Regions from separate parts of the Homo sapiens genome. Here all the other regions are linked to region 2. Evidence: promoter capture Hi-C in 16 types of primary human blood cells and fetal thymus (Javierre and others, 2016). All regions are on one chromosome and are shown on one strand. The core of a region is centred on a gene start or on the middle of the fragment in contact, and the rest is flanking DNA. Distances in the headings are between cores, read along the strand shown. Region 1 holds the start of NFE2L2 (NFE2 like bZIP transcription factor 2). Region 2 holds the start of FASTKD1 (FAST kinase domains 1). Region 3 holds the start of ATF2 (activating transcription factor 2).

Region 1 (3,154 bases), core at 312-2,811, 7.7 Mb after region 2:
GCAGAAACTTCTTTTCACTTTTATAACAATTCACAGAAATTAGCAAGTGTTTTGAAACGCAAGCGTTCCACTCTCTGCCCCTGCAGAAGAGGGGGAACATGTTAAGAAATTGAGGCAAATTCTCAACTGAAAAGGAAACATATATAAAGTACTCAGGGGAGAAATAATAGCTGAAAGCAAAAAATTACTAACAGACTAAAAGCAACAGAAATTCTAATCTACACTCGCAACTCTTACCCTTGACAGCACAGAAGAGAATATCCCGTCTTACACATTTTGGAATTGCAATTCTGAAACGCTAAATCCAAAGACAAAGCCGCTCTGGGGAAAATAGCAATTGCGCAACAGATCAACAGCTCCAACCTGTCCCTTGGCCCTGGCGCGGCGAGGTTTGCACGCTATAAAGCAGGAAAGGGCCAACCGAGGGCTGCTGTGACGGCCAACCGAGCGCTGTCACGGAAGCCAAGGCCACGCGCGCGGTGAGCGCCACCAGGGGGCACCGCGTCCGAACTAGAAGCCCCGGGTGCCGCCGACTCCGGCCTCAGAGTCCACTGCCCTCGCCCGCACTTTCCCGCGGCGTTACGAGGGGCCAACTCCGGGTGCCCGAGCCCGAACCCCTCCCCGGCCGAGAAAGTGCGCGGGGCCCGGCTCAGCCGCCACACGTCGGGGCTTCTGAGCCCGCTGGGCACTTAAGGCGCTCCTCCCTCGTCCCGGGGCTGGGCTTTCAAGAGAGCTCAAGGCTGCCAGAGAGTGATCCGAGAGATGGATGACTTCGCAAAGCCGCGCCCACAGACGGCCCAGCGGGGTGAGCGCGTCGCAGCCCGCACTCAAGGAGGTCTTGGGGCGCGGCGAAGGGGCTCCGGGTCCCAGCCCGAAGGCGACCTCAGTTCCCCCGAGAGCGGCCCCGTGACTAGGCACATTTTTGCCGGCACCGAGGCGGGGGAGCCGCGCAGCCCCGGAAGGGCCGGGCCGCGCCGGCTCAGACGGCCAGCGTCCGCCCCCTCTTGCCCCGCCGCCCACCGGGCCGCTCAAACTTAGGGGCTCCGGAGTCCCAGCTCTCGGGCCCGGGGACGCGGCTGGATTCTCCCCCAAGGCCCACGCGAGCGGGCTCAGTCCCCAGACCTTCCCGCAACTTCCCACCCGTTCGCCCTCGGGCTCGTGGTCGGTCGGATCACCCGGCCGCGTCCCCGCTGCCCCTCCCCGCCCTGCCCCGGCGCAAGCGCGGCGGCTCTACCCAGCGCCGCGGTCCTGGCTCTGGCCAGACGTGGGGGAAGCCGGTTGCGGCTGTCCCTCCCGGGCCGCGGTTCCCTAGCTCCCCCGCCCCCGTCCCGGCACCACCGCAGGGCCCAGAGGGCCGAGGCAGCACCTGCTGGGACGGGAGTCCCGGCGGCGGCAGCTCCAAGTCCATCATGATGAGCTGTGGACCGTGTGTTGGGGCTCCCCGACGGCGGCCCTGTTCCGGCTGCCGAGGCGCGGCGCGGACAGGGCGGCTCTGGTGGCGGCGGCGGCGGCGGTGGCGGCTGCGTCGGCGGCTCCTCCGGGCTCCCCGGCACTCGGTAATCGGCTACACGCCGGCGGGCCCCTGCCCCGCTCCGCCTCCCGCCCCACAAGGGCGGGGCAAGAGTCCGGGCCCTTCCTTCCCCCGCCGGCCGCGCGGGCTGAGCTTCCGAAAATCCCCCACCCGCGCCGGGGCTGACGCAAGAAGCTCGCGGTCCGGGGGCGGGAAGGGACTGCCAGCTGGGGTCCCAGCAGGCGGGGGACCTAGAGGAGGTCTCCGTTAGCTCCCCGGTGCCGGCGTTCAGTTTGCCCTCCCCCGCAAATAAGGGCAGCGCTCTCGCCCGCGAGATAAAGAGTTGTTTGCGAAGGTCGCTGGAGTTCGGACGCTTTGAAACAGTTTAAACAGTTGGAACAAACACACCCGGAGCCCCGGAAAGGCGTTGGTGTAGGAGCTGCGCCTCCCTGATTTGGAGTTGCAGAACCTTGCCCTGCTTTTATCTCACTTTACCGCCCGAGAATGGCGCCAGCCGGGGTGGGGGGGGCTAAAGATTTGGACCCAGACCGTGCCACTGCCAACTGCCCTCCCGCCCTTGCTCCCTTCCCGGGCTGGGGCCAGTGGGCCCTGCCTAGGGGAGATGTGGACAGCTCCGGCAGCTCGTGTTCGCAGTCACCCTGAACGCCCTCCTCTGAACTCCCACGTGTCTCCATTCTCCTAAGCTCAGGTCGTCAAAGGCAAACGGAGAAGCCCCTTTAGGTCGGAGAGTGGTCAGTATTGCCCACCCAGAGCTGGGAGAAAAACGGGAACCCCAAGAGAACCTCTTCCCACCAAAGCGCAGCCACCACGCCACAGATGGCGCCCTTCAACAGTGTGTAATACCACAACATGCTGTAATCGTTTACTCTTTACAAATTTCTTTTTCACGTACTCACAAAATAGTACAAATTAAAAAAAGTTACAAAAACGTTTGTATAGTATTGGCTCATTTTATAAAAACGTGCCTAGAAAAAAATTGAAGGTTACCAATATATTAAATGCTGTGGAATCAACGATTTTTATGTTTCTCCTTGTTACTTCCAAGTATGCTTTAAATCTGCAGTGCGTATGTTTTATGTCTTACATTAAAAACAATTATTTAAAAATTAATCATTGCCCAGAGAAGACTTCAAGTATTTGAAACGAGGAATATTGTGAACTCTTATAAGGGTTCAAAGAGGATAGATAAATGGTTTAGTTTTGTTTTTTTCTTCCTCTTCTGCATTTACAATCTTTCTAACTCTATACAAGACTGGTTTTCAGTTTCTAGCTTCCTGGAATTATTCAAAACCAGGTGAAGTAGATAATACTGGCAGTGGTTTTGCTATTTCATTCAAAAACCACACACACACCCCTGACTATAGCAATCAACGCCCAAAAAGCTGCAGAGCTTACTTTCTCTAGGTTGCATAATTTGACACTCCCAGGATTTATGTGTAAATTTGTATATTCAGATATTCCTTGAGATAAGTGAAGCCTAAATTAATTACTTGTAATTGAAGCAAGCTTCTTTAACTCCTATTAATTCCTTTCAGCTGTTATGTGAAAACCCTGCAACATGATCTGCACAATGAAAACAAGTTAGGAGAAAACTGTTTGCAAAGGACCTCACATGAAAGATGC
Region 2 (3,579 bases), core at 52-2,551:
AATTTTTCAGAAGTATGGTCTCAGGTTTATTTGCTTTCAGGATAATTTCTTGCCCCTTTTTCTTGTGCCCTTAAAGAGCTCAAATAATTCCTTTCTTTAGAAAATAAATAAATAAAAGAAGTCATATAATTTAATCATTACTGGCCTTGGATAGGTTTTAACCAATGAACGACACAATTAAAGCACCAATCAAGAAATACTAAGAAATTAAGTAATGTTTCAAGTCATGCTGAAACAATAAAAGAACTAAAGATAATTATGAAAAAAGAATAATTTGTTTTAAAAATATGCTATAAATGTTTACATTTATAATTGAGAAGTAATGGTTAGAAAAGCAGGGACTAAAGTCATATAATCTAATATTTCTGCAACATGTTACCATTTACAAAGAACGTTTGAAACACATTATCTCATTAAATTCTCTCAGCTAACCTTCCAGGTTGATATTATTTCCATTTTACAGATAAGGCAAAATAGGTTCAAAAAGGTTTAAAAAATCCTTCTAGTACTAGTGAAGCAGGGACTACAACTCAGTTCTTTCCACTTGAACAGCTTCATTACACAAACAAATCAACGCTGTATCACTAAATTCATGTCTCAGACCCCTCTCTACGGCTATGCCAAACAGTCTGTTCACAAGAAAAAACGACGCGACAGTACAGGCTATTTTGTGGCAAGCAGTACAGCATCCTGACCTAAGCTGACCTGGGTCACAAACCTGCACAAGAAAACCCTGCACAAATCAAAGGTATCCTCAAGATACTATATTCATCCACTGAGCTGCTCAAAGTGGAGGCAGCTCAATGGTTAGCATAGAAAGGTGTCGAGTCCCCAGCTTTGCCCCAGCTGAATGACCTTAAGGAAGGAACTTAACTACAGGAAGGGCCTTGGGACCCTAAGGGGTATCTTCTGCGCCGGGCATAAAGGAGAGCTAAACAAATGAGTGAATGAATGGGGTCTCAGCCCTGCCCTAGTCCATCCGCACTTCAGAGAACCCAATATCCCGAAGGAAGCCTCCGTATCTCAACTGAACCCTATGTCCCCAGCCCGAAAACGTGCTGGGTGGGAAAAGAAAAATAGCCGCTGCCACACAGTCCCGACTTGCCAGCAAGGTTTTCCCTCAGCGCGCCGCAAATTTTCTGGAGGATCCTGGGGTTATGAAAGCTCAGAAGTCAGGGTTATTCCTGGTCCCAACACGGAACGAAACAGGCTCGGATGTCTCGCCCAACCCTCATATCTCAGGGTTTATAACCTTTCTTCGAGAGACATGACCTTTCCCATGAGACCTTGCCCCCAAACCAGGAAAAAATGCCCGGCAGGCGCAGCGTGCACTGCGGAAGTCACGCACTACATATCCCAGGGTGGGTCGCGGCGAGGTGGGTGAAATGGACGTCGCTCACGCATTTTGGGGGAATTCTGGGCATTGTAGTTCCTCATTGAGGGAGGCTCTAGCGCAGTACACAGCTTAAGCTGTTGAAGAAGATATAGGTCGTTTAGGTGATTCTCTACTATCTAAGGTTGTTCTCCTAGTCCTTGGAAGTCTACTACTTTTATAATATACACAAAAATATACTTAGGAAAATGAAATTTAAAAATGTAAACATGGAAAAGACACGTACAGATTTTTCTTATTATTTTTTAGCATATACGAAATAACTCTGTCGAGTAACTTTGAAAGTATGCAAACTCATACTCTCAGTTTCTGCACTTATGTCGTGGATAGGTACCAGTTCTCAGACCATATTTTTTTTTTACTTACCATGGTATTTTAATAGTCCCAAGATTTGACACTTGACACTTAAAAAAAAAATACCACTAATAAATAACCAAAGTGGAATGCTTACCAAAGTTACAACAGACATAATTTTCAGCTGATAATCACTACAACAAAGTAAGGCTCTAAAGGTACCAAACTGATATTTGTTGGAATATGCTGTGCAACTTTCTTTTTTTTATTTTATTTATTTATTTTTTTTATTGATCATTCTTGGGTGTTTCTCGCAGAGGGGGATTTGGCAGGGTCGTAGGACAATAGTGGAGGGAAGGTCAGCAGATAAACAAGTGAACAAAGGTCTCTGGTTTTCCTAGGCAGAGGACCCTGCGGCCTTCTGCAGTGTTTGTGTCCCTGAGTACTTGAGATTAGGGAGTGGTGATGACTCTTAAGGAGCATGCTGCCTTCAACCATCTGTTTAACAAAGCACATCTTGCACCGCCCTTAATCCATTTAACCCTGAGTGGACACAGCACATGTTTCAGAGAGCACAGGGTTGGGGGTAAGGTCATAGATCAACAGGATAAGAATTTTTCTTAGTACAGAACAAAATGAAAAGTCTCCCATGTCTACTTCTTTCTACACAGACACAGCAACTTTCCGATTTCTCAATCTTTTCCCCACCTTTCCCCCTTTTCTATTCCATAAAACCGCCATTGTCATCATGGCCCGTTCTCAATGAGCTGTTGGGTACACCTCCCAGACGGGGTGGTGGCCGGGCAGAGGGGCTCCTCACTTCCCAGTAGGGGTGGCCGGGCAGAGGCGCCCCTCACCTCCCGGACAGGGCGGCTGGCGGGGCGGGGGGCTGACCCCCCCACCTCCCTCCCGGACGGGGCGGCTGGCCGGGCGGGGGGCTGACCCCCCCACCTCCCTCCCGGGCAGGTCGGCTGGCCGGGCGGGGGGCTGACCGCCCCCACCTCCCTCCCGGGCGGGGCGGCTGGCTGGGCGGGGAGCTGACCGCCCCCACCTCCCTCCCGGACGGGGCGGCTGGCCGGGCGGGGGGCTGACCCCCCCACCTCCCTCCCGGGCGGGGCGGCTGGCCTGGCGGGGGCTGACCCCCACCTCCCTCCCGGAGAGGGTGGCTGCCGGGTGGAGACGCTCCTCACTTCCCTGACGGGGCGGCTGCTGGGCGGAGGGGCTCCTCACTTCTCAGACGGGGCGGCTGCCGGGCGGAGGGTCTCCTCACTTCTCAGACGGGGCGGCCGGGCAGAGACGGTCCTCACTTCCCAGACGGGGTCGCGGCCGGGCAGAGGTGCTCCTCACATCCCAGACGGGGCGGTGGGGCAGAGGCGCTCCCCACATCTCAGACGATGGGCGGCTGGGCAGAGACGCTCCTCACTTCCTAGATGGGATGGCGGCCAGGCAGAGACGCTCCTCACTTCCCAAACGGGGTGGCGGCCGGGCAGAGGCTGCAATCTCGGCACTTTGGGAGGCCAAGGCAGGCGGCTGGGAGGTGGAGGTTGTAGCGAGCCGAGATCACGCCACTGCACTTCAGCCTGGGCACCATTGAGCACTGAGTGAACGAGACTCCGTCTGCAATCCCGGCACCTCGGGAGGCCAAGGCTGGCGGATCACTCGCGGTTAGGAGCTGGAGACCAGCCCCGCCAACACAGCAAAACCCCATCTCCACCAAAAAAATACGAAAACCAGTCAGGCGTGGCAGCGCGCAGGCACTTGGCAGGCTGAGGCAGGAGAATCAGGCAGGGAGGTTGCAGTGAGCCGAGATGGCAGCAGCACAGTCCAGCTTCGGCTCGGCATCAGAGGGAGACCGTGGAAAGAGAGGGAGAGGGAGACCGTGAGGGAGAGGG
Region 3 (3,082 bases), core at 538-3,037, 5.6 Mb after region 2:
TACGCAACTACTGATGGCCTTAAAGATCCATGAACTTTCTTAATCTGCAGAGGGGAATCTGTATATTTAAAACGTATTTTACAAGGATGTTCCTAACATTTTTGAAACAAAGTTTTTACGGTGGATTCCTCAAGTAAGGAAAAAAAAATTAATACATGATAAAACTGCTTCTGTGTTTGTACTTTAAGACACTTAAACCTGTAGGTTTGACTTTTTAACAAGCTTTTATAAATAAAGCTTTACCTTCATAATTTTGATTCAAGAGACCAAAGCTATATGGCTATTTAAAGATCAGAACGGCTGTTACTCACAATGATAACGCCAGTGGTCATGTTTCTTCAAATAGGACAAAAAGTGTGCTCAAAGAAAGTCAGTTTTTGTTCTGATTTTAAATGTATATCTTAAATGCATGCATTGTGACCGTCTCCATAATTTAAAACCTCTAAGAAATTTAAACTTTCACATTATAATTTAGGGATTAGTCAATCCCTTAGTACCAGTTAAATAATAGCCAGGAAAGCATTAGAAAACCTGAAGGTACATGTAAAGAAATGCTTTACATCACTATTTAAAATAGGTGTTGAATTTTAAGAGAAACATTTCTTTCACTAAAATTTCTGATGCCTAAGGTCCATCAGGAGTAATCTCTTTTACTCCATGATATTCACAGTAGTTTTGCTCTTGGCCTCACCAGTTTTAAGACTCTCCATTAAAGAAAGCCAATTTTATACTACCTAGGGGCACAAAAATAGTTCCCAGCTCCTCCTCTCTTTTTCCTCCTAGGTTCGGTTAAACGAGCGAACATAGAAAACACGTACACACACTCCCTTTCGGCCCTGGTCCCTAGGGCATTGATGAAAAGCAAATTATTTCTTTACATACGCTCTGCTGTCCACCCAGAGATTTAAAAAAAAAAAAATAAGGGAAAATACCAGAATCAGTCTGCACCCACACCTAAGCCCCGCCCCACCGGGAAAAAGCTGGGGGTAGCGGGATTGTGAGGGTGGCGGAAAGGACGGAAAAGGCCGAGACTTCCAGCTCCTAGGTTCTCCACACCATTCTTTCCTTCAAGCTGCACCGCAGCCAGGGACCCTGATTCTATTTTCAGCCGCGCCTCCCGATCCTCCTCCCCGCCACCATCACCAATACACGGTCCTCAATCGCTTGAATACTGGGTGGGGAGACCAGAGTGGGCCCTCTCCCCGCCCAACCCAAGGACTGTGGGTGGGAGAGGTCTCCCTGCGCACACGGCTGACTCGACGCGCGCCCCGAGGACCTCTGAACTGACCCAAGTAGGGTGAAGATAATTCGGAGGGAGGGGTCTAAGAGGGAGCCGTTATTCCTTTTTCCTCTGCCTTAGGAAAGCGCGCGAGAGGGAGGGGCCGGAACAACGAACGCTGGTTACCTAACGGTCCGGCCCAGCCAGTCAGGTTCCCAAAGCCCACACCGCGCGGGCCGCCGAGGTGGCAGCACAGCCACAATCGCCCCAAGGGCTAAGGAGCACGTCAGGAGCACCCGAGGTGATGGGAAACGGGGGGTGGGGACTGTGCTGAGCGACGTCGCCATGTTAGCGCCTTCTTTCTCCGTATCCCTACAGTCTCCAGCCCTGCTGACCTCTGCCCATCGTTACTCACCTTTCCAGGTCACTAGTTCATGATCCTTTCGGTCACCCGCGAGCCCTGAGCACAGCCGTGTTTACAAAGCACCCCTGGAGGAAAAGGCTGAACGGCACTTTAAAGGCCACGGGCTCCCACAGGCTTCCGTCCTCTCTCGCGAGATCGGACTGACAACCCCCGCCCGCTCGCCCCGCTCCCGGCATCCCCACCTTCCTTCTGGCGCCCCTCCCCTTCACCCACACGCCCCTTCTTGCCTTCCTTCTGAGGGAGCGCCTCCGAGTCAGGTGATTCCGTCAGGCTTAAGGAGAAGAAGGCGGGTCTTCGGCAGGGCGGGTAGAGGGGACGGGCATCAAAGAGCACTCGGGCGCTCATGATTGGACAAGGAGCCCGAAGGGCGGGAAGCAGTTCTGGAGGGGGCGGGACCAGAGGGCCCAAGGAGCGTTACTTCTGTAAACCCGGAGCTGTGGAAGACTGTGATTGGCTGTCGGCTGGAGGAGGGCGCGGGTGCAGGCGGCGGTGAAGGGCTAGGCAGGGCTTTGGCGGTGTGAGGGGAGGAAAGGTGGTGAGCTCCGGAAAGGCTGCTAGAGGGAAAGCAGGATGGGTCCTCCGAGCCCAGCCCCAGGAGCCGGGTGTCTCCGTTTCCGTCACTTCCCAGCACTAGGTAGGGAGGTGGGTAAAAGTAGGCTGCGTTCCTCAGCCCACCCCTTGGCTCCCCGGGAGCCTGAGGCGGGGAGCTTCGGGTTAGGTGAGGTTTGGGGGAGGCGGAGTTTGCTGGTAATTGCCCATCCCTCCCCTCCAAAAAACCCCACACAACTTAAAGATTTTAATATTAACTGTAAGGATGTTGGTTATTCAATAAATAGGCACAAGTTGAAAAGTATGATCAGAGGCCTCTGTGAGAATTTACATTATTCAATAAAAGATTTTCAGTGTCTTATTTTTTCCATTTATTAAATACTGATTTCTAGTCTGGAACAAAATTATGAACTAGTTTATATATTAACATAAAATACACTCTCAAAATTGTTGAAAGGTTTTGGGGGATAGTATGAGAGTTAATGAGCCTGAAGTTCAAGAATGATATCTGGCATAAAAGTGAAATTGTAATGGCATTGACATTTTAACAGGTAGGTCTCTGGACCGCATACATGTGTATAAGCCAACTCAGTCCTCTTTTAAAACTAATTTTAGTTAAGAAACATTAAGCCAAATTATTAACACTTTCCTACTTAAAATGAAAGTACCGTCCCCATATAGTAACAGTAATGTAGTAGTGCCATTGTAGTGTAACACTAATTATGTCAGCAAAACCTCACAGTTCAGATTACTCATGATGGAAATGGTGGACAAAATGTTTGATTGACATCACAATTGTTAGGTCTAGAACGCATTGATTAAATAGATGCTTCTCTCTCCATCTCCCAAAACAACTAATGTGAGAAAAAGAACTGCAAATGTTACGACAT

What was found. The method cuts DNA at HindIII sites, captures the fragments that hold promoters and counts their contacts. A CHiCAGO score of 5 or more calls a contact.
Region 1: the fragment with the promoter of NFE2L2 here is called in contact with the fragment with the promoter of FASTKD1 in region 2 in 2 of 17 cell types (activated CD4 T cells and total CD4 T cells); the score reaches 7.1 in activated CD4 T cells.
Region 3: a contact is called between the fragment with the promoter of ATF2 here and the fragment with the promoter of FASTKD1 in region 2, in 3 of 17 cell types (total B cells, naive CD8 T cells and total CD4 T cells). The highest score is 19.5, in total B cells.

What each region holds. Positions count from the first base shown.
Region 1 is chr2:177,263,166-177,266,319 of GRCh38, forward strand. NFE2L2 (NFE2 like bZIP transcription factor 2) reads right to left here and starts at 1,562. Exons shown (of 5, transcript NM_006164.5): 1 at 1,367-1,562. The coding sequence starts at 1,411. RefSeq lists an enhancer at 1-735 and silencers at 416-575, 836-1,705. The HindIII fragment of the contact is 5,708 bases long and covers 1-3,035 here.
Region 2 is chr2:169,572,564-169,576,142 of GRCh38, forward strand. FASTKD1 (FAST kinase domains 1) reads right to left here and starts at 1,302. Exons shown (of 15, transcript NM_024622.6): 1 at 1,106-1,302. RefSeq lists enhancers at 884-1,053, 909-1,511, 1,414-1,513. The HindIII fragment of the contact is 12,279 bases long and covers 1-3,579 here.
Region 3 is chr2:175,166,416-175,169,497 of GRCh38, forward strand. ATF2 (activating transcription factor 2) reads right to left here and starts at 1,788. Exons shown (of 14, transcript NM_001880.4): 1 at 1,635-1,788. MIR933 (microRNA 933) reads right to left here and starts at 1,294; the gene lies at 1,218-1,294. RefSeq lists a silencer at 1,737-1,806. The HindIII fragment of the contact is 6,773 bases long and covers 236-3,082 here.